Regions from separate parts of the Homo sapiens genome. Here region 1 is linked to region 2. The links are contacts of gene promoters, found by promoter capture Hi-C in blood cells and fetal thymus (Javierre and others, 2016). All regions are on one chromosome and are shown on one strand. Each heading gives the region's core, a stretch centred on a gene start or on the middle of the fragment in contact. The rest is flanking DNA. Distances are from core to core; before and after follow the strand shown.

Evidence for each region. The method cuts DNA at HindIII sites, captures the fragments that hold promoters and counts their contacts. A CHiCAGO score of 5 or more calls a contact.
Region 1: a fragment that was not itself captured here is called in contact with the fragment with the promoter of RHBDL3 in region 2 in 3 of 17 cell types (M1 macrophages, M0 macrophages and megakaryocytes); the score reaches 5.5 in M1 macrophages.

Annotation. Positions count from the first base shown.
Region 1 is chr17:32,295,621-32,301,623 of GRCh38, reverse strand. RHBDL3 (rhomboid like 3) reads right to left here. Exons shown (of 9, transcript NM_138328.3): 6 at 3,420-3,532. Among named protein-coding and RNA genes, the nearest start is that of RHBDL3, 33 kb to the right of the region's middle. RefSeq lists an enhancer at 2,616-3,246. The HindIII fragment of the contact is 1,406 bases long and covers 1,686-3,091 here.
Region 2 is chr17:32,263,422-32,269,571 of GRCh38, reverse strand. RHBDL3 (rhomboid like 3) reads right to left here and starts at 3,740. Exons shown (of 9, transcript NM_138328.3): 1 at 3,272-3,740; 2 at 1,647-1,670. The coding sequence starts at 3,382. LOC105371731 (a long non-coding RNA gene) reads left to right here and starts at 4,121. Exons shown (of 3, transcript XR_934665.2): 1 at 4,121-4,307; 2 at 4,676-4,826. The HindIII fragment of the contact is 5,065 bases long and covers 2,031-6,150 here.

The DNA of each region.
Region 1 (6,003 bases), core at 1,139-3,638, 33 kb before region 2:
GTCTCAAACTCCCCATCTCATGTGATCTGCTCGCCTCGGCCTCCCAAAGTGCTGGGATTACAGGTGTGAGCCACCATGCCCGCCAACTTTCCTTTATTCTATAAATATTTATTGCCTAACATGTGCCAAGCCCTGTGCTAGGCCCTGGGGATGCACACGTGGTTAGTAATCTATATAATCTATAATATAAGATTGGTGATATTGATTTTTTTTTTTTTGGTAGAGATGGGGGTCTCACTATGTTGCCCAGGCTGGTCTTGACTTCTGGCCACAAGCAATCCCCTCACCTCAGCCTCCCAAAGTGCTGGGATTACAGGAGTGAGCCACTTTGCCCGGCCCAAGATACTGGTTTTTAAAATACCTACATTGTGTGCCATATAATTGCTAGCCATAAGTGATTTTCACATTGGCCTCAAGCATTGGTTAGAAAGAAGCACAGGGGGCTGCCAGGCGCAGTGGCTCACGCCTGTAATCCCAGCACTTTGGGAGGCCAAGGCGGGTGGATCATGAGGTCAGGAGTTCAATACTAACCTGGCCAAGACGGTGAAACCCCGTCTCTACTAAAAATACAAAAAAATTAGCCGGGCGCGGTGGTGGGCACCTGCAATCCCAGCTATTCAGGAGGCTGAGGCAGAGAATTGCTTGAACGCAAGAGGCGGAGGTTGCAGTGAGCCGAGATCATGCCACTGCACTCCAGCCTGGGTGACACAGTGAGACTCCGTCTCAAAATCAAAAAAAAAAAAGGAAAGAAGCACAGGGCTTGGGAAGGGCTCCTCCCTAGTTCTAGTACTTTTCAGGTAAGCAAATCTGCAAGTCATTTCACCTCCCTGGGCTGCCTGTAAAATGGGAGTGGTAGTACCCACCATATAGGACAGCAGTGATGAGCATAGCATCCACGATCATCCGCAAACCCCTCATCATATGCCTGGAGCATGTATATGCCCCATAGAGGTTAGCTATCCTCATTACAAAGTGTGGATTGGAAACACTTTCACTGGGAAGGAATTAGAGAGTAAGGCTGCCAGACATCTATTAAGGTCTCCTTTGGTTTTTTTCTTTTTTTCTTTTTTGAGACAGGTTCTTGCTCTGTCACCCAGGCTGGAGTGCAGTGGTGTTATCACAGCTCACTGCAGCCTTGCACTTCTGGGCTCAAGCGATCCTCCTGCATCAGCCTCCCAAGTAGCTGGTGGGACTACAGGCCTACACCACCATGCCCAGCTAATTTTTAAAAAACTTTTTGTAGAGACAGGGTCTCCCTATGTTGCTCAGCTTGGCCTGGAACTCTTGGGCTCAAGCGATCTTCCTGCCTTGACCTCCCAAAGTATTGGGATTACAGGTGTGAGCTACTGCACCTGGTCTGCCTTGGTTTCTGACAATAAATTAACTGCAAAAAGGACAAGGACCACCTTTTGGTTCTCGTCATACTATTATAGTGGTTGAGATCACAGCCTTGGGGGTCAGACCCTGCCCAGCTCCACCACTTTCTAGCTGTGTCTTCTTGGGCGAGCCACTTAGCCATCTAAGCCTTGGTTTCCATATCTGTGCTGGGGGAGAGCAGCAGTGCCCACCTCGTAGCGTTGCTGTGTGGATGAATTACGGCCTGCATATGGTAGGCACTGATAAGTGCCACCCGTCCAATCTAGGGCTGGCTGGCTGTAAACCGGCTCACCTCTCAGAGGAAAGCTTGGGAGGACAGGAAAGGGTAGACAGCAGAGACAGATCAATCAACTCAATCATGGAGATCAATGACATGTGTGGTGACCAGAGTGCCCTCTGGTCTTAATCACTGACTCAGACAGAACAGTGCACGCCATGTGCTCAATGATACAGCCCTACATGCTCACATTCAGGTGATGAGCTCTGCTTCTGTTTGAATCTTCCCACTCTGCACTGGTGTCACTGGGGAGGTGACACCTACTCTGTCTCCCCACTGCATGTCACCTGGTTTGGGTGAGGTCTGAGTCCATTTGAATCTTATTTTTGTCTTCTAGGTTATTGGCATTCCCATCTAATTGAATACTAACTGCAAATGTTATTAATGTCTTCCCTGTTCCTTGCTATTTAACATCTGGGTCTCTGGGTATTGAGGTATGGAAAATGAGGCTATCAATCCTCAGATGTCAGGATTAGGGGGTGTGTGGGTGGCTGAACAAGTCTGGCACTTAGAGATGCTCATTAGCCCTTTATTCAAGGACGTGGTGAGCCTTGGATTCTGGGAGGGGCTTGCAGGGGTGCTGACCAAGGTGGCCAACGATTTTAACCTCAGCGCATACAGGAGCAAAGGAGATGGTGCAGGGTGAATCTCCCAGGCCAAGGGTTCATGCACTAGCAGACCAGCCTCGTGTGGGTGGGGTGGGACCCTTCCTCTTTGATTTCTGAAACCACTTCAGTTACTCCCAGGGTCCCTGCCTGCCTGTTGTTTACAAGGCTGACGCTGCCCGGCTCTCCTGATGACAACTTTAATACCACTCAGAAAGGATTAAGATCTTACTTAAACATACACACAAAGCTCCCTTGGGCACAGCTGTCAAGCTGAAGAGCTGAGGCGGCAAACCTTGTTAAAAAAAAAAAAAAAAACAGCCGGCAATAAAGTTGGAGACATCACGAGGGAGATCCTCATGTTCAGAGGCCTGGCTGGCAGACGCTTCCTGCAGAAATCCGTGCTCTCCCCAGCTAACTTCACCCACCTCACCTCCCACTGGGGAGGGGGCAGAAGGTGGAAGGCTCACTGGGAGTCACTCTGGCCACTATCCATGAAGGATGATCACTGGCCACACGTGTGCCCACTCAGCTGGAGGCCCAGATGCCTTCAGATGGAGCCAGGGCTCACTGCCTCTTAGGTCAGACTCCCTGTCAGCAGTGGGTCAGGCAAGGGGACTGCGGTTGGTCTGGGTAGCAGCCAGCTCTCTTTTTGGGGACAGGTGCTACGTGGCCAGGGTGGTACCTGGCTCCACTCACCCCTTTGATTCCCCTGTGGGGATCTCACTGTGCCCTTGCAGTTTTCGGAGCACTGTTGTTCCATCTGTTGCCTCACTCACTCTGCCCTCCTGGCAACCCTACAGGCAGATCTCATTAGTTCCCTCTTAAAGCTTAACATGGCCAAAAGAGGTTAGGAAATTTCCCCAAGCTCAGAGAGCTACCACATGGTGGTGTGAGACCGAGAGTCGGTTGTCCAGCCTGTCCCAAATCCAGTGCTCTCCTCCCCCGTCCTGCCACACACCTCCCTCTATGGGCAGCAGTCCGTTCTCCAGCCTCATAGGGAGGTGGGTGTGCCTGGAGGACAGCCTGGTTAAGTCAGGAGCCTTGGAGATGAGGATCTTCTGTGTGTCCTGGAAACCTGGGGCTTGCCCCGCCCCACAGGGTCTCCCACCCCACCCTGGGGCAGTGTGCCTTTGTGGACACGGGGCCTACCTGCCTACCTGCCACAACACCGGCCACGTAGACAAGCCCAATTCGGGTGGCTCCATGCACCATCTCCAGGGGCACCCCCACCAGCAGCTGCAGCACCACATTGAGTCCCAGGTGTTCTATCCTGTGACAGAGAGACCACACTCACTCATTCATCTATTCATTCATTCATTCATTCATTCATTCAACAAACACCTGCATCCCCCAAGATGCCAGGGATCCAGCAATGAACAAGACCACCTCTGCCTGCGAGGAGCTCATGGTCTAGGGGAAGGAATGACAATTCAGACAGACCATCTTGGAAAGAGTGTTCCTTCCAGATGGGACAGGAACAGATGTGCAAGGCCTGGGCGTGACTGGCAGCATTTCACTTGGCACAGTGAGACAGACTAACCACAGTCAAGATCCAGCAACTAGGCTGGGCGCAGTGGCCCACACCTGTAAGCCCAACACTTTGAGAGGCCAGGGTGGGAGGACCACTTGAACCCAGGAGTTCAAGATCAGCCTAGGCAACATAGTGAGATACCATCTCTGAAAAAAAAAAAAAAAAAAAAAAAAAAAAAGATCCAGCAACTCCATCAGTTAACATGTGAAAAACCAAGGTTCAGAGATAGTGACCAGCCACAGTTAGTGGCCACGCTGACACAACAGTTCAGGTCTCCAATCTGCCTGACCTGCTCCATTCACTGGGCCATGTGGTCATTCTGGCTCTCTTTGTTTTTTGTTTGTTTGTTTTTGTTTTGTTTTGTTTTTTGAGATGGAGTGTTGCTCTGTCAACTAGGCTGGAATGCAGTGGCATGATCTCAGCTCACTGCAACCTCTGCCTCCTGGGTTCAAGCGATTCTCCTGTCTCAGCCTCCCAAGTAGTTGGGATTACAGGCCACCATGCCCGGCTAATTTTTGTATTTTTAGTAGAGATGGGGTTTCACCATGTTAGGCAGGCTGGTCTCGAACTCCTGACCTCAAGTGATCCACTCGCCTCGGCCTCCCAAAGTTTTGGGATTACAGGCATGAGCCACTGCGCCTGGCCATGTTCTGGCTCTATTTGTAAGAGCTATGGATGTTAGCCAGGCGTGGTGGCTCATGCCTGTAATCCTAGCACTGCAGGAGGCCCAGACAGGTGGATCACCTGAGGTCAGGAGTTCGAGACCAGCCTGGCCAGCGTGGTGAAACCCCGTCTTTACTAAAAATATGAAAATTAGGCATGGTGGCAGGTGCCTGTACTCCCAGCTACTAGAGAAGCTGAGGCTGGCAGGTGCCTGTAATCCCAGCTACTCGGGAAGCTGAGGCAGGAGAATAGCTTGAACCTGGGAGGTGGAGGTTGCAGTGAGCCGAGATCGCACCATTGCACTCCAGCCTGGGCAAAAGAGCGAGATTCCTTCTCAAAAAATAAAATAAAATAAAATAAAATAAAATAAAATAAAATAAAATAAAATAAAAAAGAGCTACGGGTGTTTAAAGAAAAATATGTTCTCAAAACAAGTGCAGGCATTAAATATACATCTTATAACTTAATAATTCAAAGCTTTCCCTTAAAGTCTCATAAGAGAGGTTTCTCTTTACTGGTATAAGAAGAGATCTAGGCCAGGTGCGGTGGCTCAAGCCTGTAATCCTGGCACTTTGGGAGGCTGAGGTGGGCGGATCACAACGTCAGGAGTTCAAGACCAACCTGGCCAATATGGTGAAACCCTATCTCTACTAAAAATACAAAAATAAGCTGGGAGTGGTGGCATGCACCTGTAGTCCCAGCTACTCAGGGGGCTGAGGAAGGAGAATCGCTTGAACCCAGGAGGTGGTGGCTGCAGTGAGCCAAGATCGCGCCACTGCACTCCAGCCTGGGTGACACAACGAGACTCCATCTCAAAAAAAAAAAAAAAAAAAAAAGAGACCTATTCTGCTCCAAAACCCTCAGGACTAGGATATGGGATCCCAGGTTTTCTGTTTTTTTTCTTTTTTCTTTTTTTTTTTTTTTTGAGATGGAGTCTCTTTCTGTCATCCAGGCAGTCTCTCTCACACCATCCATGCGGTGGTGTGATCTCGGCTCACTGCAAGCTCTGCCTCCTGGGTTCATGCCATTCTCCTGCCTCAGCCTCCCGAGTAGGTGGGACTACAGGCGCCTGCCACCAGGCCTGGCTAATTTTTTTGTATTTTTCAGTAGAGACGGGGTTTCACCATGTTAGCCAGGATGGTCTTGATCTCCTGACCTCGTGATCCGCCTGCCTTGGCCCCCCAAAGTGCTGGGATTACAGGCGTGAGCCACCGCGCCCGGCTGGACCCCAGGTTTTCTGACCCTGTGAACACCTTCCTCCCTATACTACCTGTGACTACATCTTGCTGCTAAAATTGTGGGGCATCTAGCTGTGTGCATGTGACCAGAAAAGACTGTAACATGACTATTACTAAATCAATCAGGTGCTTCCAACTTTATACAGCACTTTAACACCCACTGTCTCATTTAAATTGAGCTGACATCCCCTGGGAAGCTCCTGGGACAGGGCTCAGATGCCCTCAGCTCACTGCTTTTGGCTCCAGGAGGCAGAGGATGGAGCAAGGAGGCTTTGGCTATTCTCCTTCCTCACCCTGAGGCACCAAGAG
Region 2 (6,150 bases), core at 2,491-4,990:
GCCAGTGCATGCTTTGAACTTCAAACCACAGCCAGACCTCGTGGTTAATGTGGATGATCACCCCAAATCCTCACCCCAGGCCTTTCGCGCTGCAATTCCGTGTCATCACGCCCACTCCGGCATCTGCAACCGGCTGGCTCCTCTAACTGAACTTGTCTCAAACCAAAGTTGTCATTTTTGCCAAACGTCTCTCCTCACTCCAACTTGTTTTTTGTTTTTGTTTTGAGACAGGGTCCCACTCTGTCACTCAGGTTGGAGTGCAGTAGCACGATCGTGGCTCACTGCAGCCTCAACTTCCTGGGCTCAGGCAATCCTCCTGCCTCAGTCTCTCATGTAGCTGGAACCACAGGAGTGTGCTACCATGCCTGGCTGATTTTTTAATTTTTTGTAGAGATGAGGTCTCACTTTGTTGGCGAGGCTGGTCTTGAACTACTGGGTTCAAGTGATCCTCCCGCCTTAGCCTCCCAAAGTGTTGGGATTACAAGCGTGAGTCACCACACCTGGCCCCACTCCAACTTCTTTCCCTCCTAGGTTCAGAATCTCAAAGTTAGATATGTGGTTCCCCTCACCTACGGTCTATTAAGATCTTCCAATTCTTCCATCACCATGTCCCTCTTCCCGTCCATCCTCACTGTCACCTTCTTGCCTCTGTTCAGTGCTGCAGCTCCTGCCTAGCTTCCCTCATCCCCGTAGCCCATTCACTCCTTATCCCCTAAGACACTGGAGCTTTCCCAAGCCTGGCTTGGATCACATAACAACCCTGCTAAAAAACTTTCTAAGGCTTCCCCTGCCTACAACGAAGTCCTGGTTCAAGCTAATTTTTCAGCTTTATCTCCTTCTCCTACCCAACACATTCCCTCTGGCCCACTCACACCAATTTCTTAAAGTTGCACAAACTTCATGGCACAATCATTCTCACCCCAGGACTATAGCACTCAACTATCCTCCAACATGGGGCAAAGAGGGAGAAGGAAGCACATAACAGCACCCACCACGAATGCTAAGAGGAGAACCATTTCCTTGCTGAAGGTCAAATGTCCATCTCCAGGTTCAAAAGCCAATACTTGGCACCCCCAACTCCATGCCCTACACCTGGACTCCAGGCATTGCGAAGAATCACACACAATTTCCCCTCTGTAACCTCCCAGCACTCCCTCATCCCTATGACAGAATTAAAGACATTGAATTAGACTTCAAAAGAGTCCATACTGTGAGTCAGCCCCCAAGGATGGCAGAGATTTGACTTCAGCGGTGGCCATGGACCCTCCATAGTGGAGGTAGAAACGGAGAGGGATTGTCAGCCCAAGCCCTTCCCCCACCTCTCCAGCCCCCTACTGCAATCCCCTGGCATATGGAGGATTTCCCAGGCATTCAATATATAACGTCCAATTTCTACATGGTGTAAACCCGGCTCTGGTGCAGCAGAGTAGGGAGGAGGCAGGAGGGAGATCCTCTCAGGGGAGCCCATCTCTTCCTCCTGATACCTGGAGAGCAGTGTCGTTCAGCCCTAGAGATGCACAAAGCCACACCCCCACCCCACGTCACCATCTCAGGAGCGCGGAGCTAGGGAAGCCCACGCAAGCAGGGAGACTGAGACCGATTTCAGGGAGGGCTGGAAGGAAATGGGGGGTTAACTGCTCACATACCTGATCAAACAGGACTTTCCAGTGCTGGCAGAGAGGGAGGCCATGCAGGAGAGGAAGAAGAGGAGAGAAAGAAAGACACACTTATCACCAAGGTCTCTGTAGTCCTCGGATGTTTCTGACATAGCCTCCCAGCGGCTGCCCAGGAGTCATGACCAGGCTCAGGGACTGGCCACAGGAGAGCAGGGGAAGTCTGGGAGGAGCTCCCCAATGAGTCCACACTGAGCAGAGGGAGGAAACTCACAGTAAGGGATGGGGTGGGGGCGGGGGCGGCAAGGTGGGTGTTGCTGGTTCTGGAACTGGCAGAACAAGTGATTCTCAACAATTACTAAATAAAGGCGTCCAAATATGTCCAAGCGCCTCTAATAATTTCTGCTGCCTAAAGCTTATGTCCACAGCTACTCCCAGGCCTGGGAGAGCATGGCCAGGTGCAATTCCATCAGACCCCGGCGCAATGAGTCTCACCTGCTGGGAGCTAGAGCCCCCCCCTCCCCCCCCAGGAGAACTCACCTCTGCATAAACACTAACATTTTGCCTGCAGTTTTTTGTTTGTTTGTTCGTTTTTTGTTTTTTTGCGGGGAAGGGGGGGTGGTGAATGCCGAATGCGGTGAAGCCCACCCATTCTCTTCCAAGGCTGAGTCTAAGTGGTGACTACATCAGATTCTGCCAGGGGTTTAGGGCCAGAAGGAAGTGATAGATTTAACCGCAGACGCCAAAGAGAGAAGATCGTAAACTACCCCCCAACCCCATTCAGACTTTCCCGCTTTCGTTGTGTGGGTTGGGGGCCTGGTTTCACTTCCATCTCCCCACCCTGAGGGAGGAGTGGGCAGGGCAGGGTGTCTGCCCGGTTTTTCACCCCTATGTGTAGGTTAGCCCCGGGAGGTTAACCCAAGAAACTCCAGTTCCCAGGGCTTCGCAGGGCCGGCCCGCAGGACCGGAGGGATGGAGACCCGAGCAGCAGACGGCGGGGAAGCCCTCGGGGCAGCCCCTCCCTCTCCTCGCCCAGGGGACCGTCCCCTGGCACCGCCACGGTCTTGGACTCCCGGGCCTCCTTCTAGGAGCAAAGCCGCTCCCAGCACTCTTTGCCTCCCTGCTCCGGCCGGGGTCAGAGGCGGGGGCCGGCTTGAATTTCAATCAGTGTCGCGGCAAGGCAGGTGCCGGGCGGGAGCTAATCCGGGAGCGGAGGAAGGGGTCGCCAGGCCGGCTTGCATGGCCAGGGACGGGGACTCTGCGGCGTCCGCTCCTTCCCCAGCTCCGGGAGCTCGCAGGTCGCGGGCGTGAGGGGAGGGGGAGTCACCGCCGTGACGCGGCCGCCTCTGCGGGAAAACGCCGTGTCCCGGGCACTGCACCAGCGGCGGGGAGGGGGCTCCGGCGGTGACAGGTCCGCGGCGCAGTGGCGGTGCTGTGTCCCGCAGGGAAGCCGCGGGAACCAGAGCGGGGGAAGCGGTGCGCGCGCGTTTCGGGGAGACCGGTCCCTCCGCCCCCTCCTGCCCGCGGGGACCCGGCCAATCCGGGGCGCTCCCGCGTCACCCTGAAACCTCCAAGTTGCCCGGCGTGGGGCGAGACAGGGGCGGCTTTTCCCCCCGGCGCCCCCTAGAAAGTTTGCCGGGCGGGGAGGGGGCACTCACGTCCTCCGGCGCCGCGGGCAGCCGCTCCTCGGCCTCGGGTTCCAGCTCCTCGATGCGCTCCGCCTCGGCGCAGGCGGCCACCGCGGGGCCCGGGCTGGGGTGCTCGCCCATGGCCGAGACGGGGTCCGGGGGCGGCGGCGGCTGCGGGGCTCGTCCCGGGGCGCCGGGCTAACTTTGCGCCGCGGCGGCCGCGCCGCTCCAGGGGCTCAGTGCGCGCCGCGCCGCCTCCGCGCCCGCTCCGCAGCCCGCGCCCGCCCCCATGGCCCCGGTCCCCGCGCCGCCGCCGCCTCCTCGCGACCCCGGGACGCCCGGCCCCTCCGCCGCCAAACTTCACTGCGCTAGCTGCCCCGCCGGCCTCCGCCTCCGCCCCGGCCCTCGCGCCCGGCTCCGAGGCGAGGGCGCCCTTGGGCCGGCCCCGGCCCCGCCGCTCCCCGCGCTCCCTTCCCGCTTCTCGCGGCCCCCGCTCTGCGCCCGAGTCTCCTCCTCCCCGCGGAGTCCTCGGGGGCGGCGCGCGGGCGGGGGCGGGGCTGCTCGCGGGGAACGCCGGCCCCCGCCCCGCACCCCACCCCGGGCGCCGCCACCCGGGCCCAGTCGGTCAGAGCGGCGCGGCCCGGGAGCGGGAGGGCTGCGGCGGGGCTGGCGAGGAAGTGGTGGCGCTGCCCGGGGCGGGGATGGGGACTGCGCCGTCCCCGGCCCGGTCACCACCGGCCTGCACTCCGGGCCCGGGCTTGGCTCTTCCATCGGCTTAACCATCACTTGGAGGTGGCAGATATGTGATGGAGACACTATGTTGGCGACGTCAGGGTTAACTAGGAGTGAATTGGGGGCGCGATGTTGTAAGGACGGGATTCCTGCCTCCCGCCCCATTATCCTTACGCCCTATTCACTGCGGTCTCAGATTCTGGGAGGTCTCGGGAGGCCCAGAAATGGGAGAAGTCAGATTGCGGGGTCGTGGGCCCCAAAGCCTAAATCTTGCCCTTCCTACACCCAGAGCTAAGTGACCATGCCCAGGCTTCATTTGACCACATGGACAAAGGTAAGCCCAGGGAAATGCCCCATCTGGGGAGAGGGACGGTAAAGAAACTAAAGCAATCAGAAAGGAAGTTAGCCAAAACGGAGTAGGGGATCTTTTAAAGAAAACAATCGATGCTGTTTCCCTGCAGGAAAGCGCCCCCAAGAGAGACCATCTCCCGAAGCAGAGGCTCTGGCTGTAAATGGTGCTAGTGGCCGGCCTGGCAGGGGCCAGCTCTCCCCAGAGGCTCAGGAGCTTCTCCAGGAGGCATCTCGCAGTCAGTCCCCAGCCCACACCAAGGCTGTGCCCTTCCACTCCTCTTGCTTTCCTCTTCCCACCACCCACTCACTCACTAGTCTTTGCCCTCTTCCTTCCTCTGGGAAACGGAACAGGCTCCTTTCCATTAGTGAGAGCTGCAACTAATGCAGTCATCTTCAGAAAGCAAAGACATAACCCCGTGCCCAGGATCCGAACTGCGACCATCACCCAGCAATGACTGCTCCCCTTAAACACCGAGAAGGGAATTCACTTGATTCTAATTAGGTGAGTTTGCTACAGACACCAATTTTCATCTCTGTTTCAGAAAGTGTGATCATTTCAACTATTTTTGTTTCTCACCACCCTCCTCCCCATCCCTACTCTACTAACAAGTCAAGATCCTGCCAAGATTTCCTTGTAAATAAAACTGTCTGCATGGGGTGTGATTTTGAAAACAGCCTTCAGGGGACAGAAGAGAGGCTGATTCCTTTGTGAAGAGGAGCCCAGAAGGACAAATGACCGCTGGGGCCCTGGGGTCTGTGTCGCTGCCTCCCGCATCCCAGGCTGTCATTTGCATGACCGGTATGGGTGTTGGCTCTGTTATACTTAGATCTCTGGGACTAGAGAAGTGGGCCAGGAAGTCTGGTTCCAGGGGAACTGGAAGGAGAAGGGCACAGAAAAGGGTTGGCCACTCTGCTGGGATGCCCAGCCACCCTGGACAGTGTTCTGATACCAGCTACCCAGGGAGCTGCCTCTTCATCAGCCCAGGGACAGCTCTTATCAACATATCCAACTCTGTCATCCCTTCGTGGGGAAGGGAGCTTAGCAGGCTCAGTTCTGTTCCTGAACATGTATTAAGCTCCTACTAAGTACCAATGACAGAGCTTTGAGAATACAGAGGTGGATAAGAACCAGACCCTGCCCTCCAGAAATGGATAATTGGGGGTGACAGTCACATTCAACACAAGGGTAAGTCCTGGATTCAAGGGAAGCCCAGAAGGTGTAGAACTCCAAAGGAGGGGGTCGCTGTGGGTCCAGGAAGGCTTCCCAAAGGATAAGCCTCCAGAACTAGGCAACATGGAAAAGGTGAAGGAGGTGTTCCAGGTAGAGGGAACAGCACGACCAGGCTTGTGGAGCAGCATCATATGGGAGGCAAACGACAAGCAGTTTGGCATGGCTGGAAACTGGAGCACGATGACCAATCTAAAGAGCCCAGCCTGGACGGGAAGGTTGTGAGGGGCTGTGAGTTTCATGGGAAAAGAGCTTGGACTTTACCTAAGGGCAATAGGGAGCCATTGAAGGATTGTGAGCAGTAGAGTAATATTTAAAAGATCCCTGGCCAGGCGCGGTGGCTCACGGCTGTAATCCCAGCACTTTGGGAGACCAAGGCGGGCGGATCACGAGGTCAGGAGATCGAGACCGTCCTGGCTAACACGTTGAAACCCTGTCTCTACTAAAAAAATACAAAAAATTAGCCGGGCGTGGTGGTGGGCGCCTGTAATCCCAGCTACTCGGGAGGCTAAGGCAGGAGAATCACTTGACCACAGGAAGCGGAGCTTGCAGTGAGCCGAGATCTGCCACTGCACTCCAGCCTGGGCGACAGAGTGAG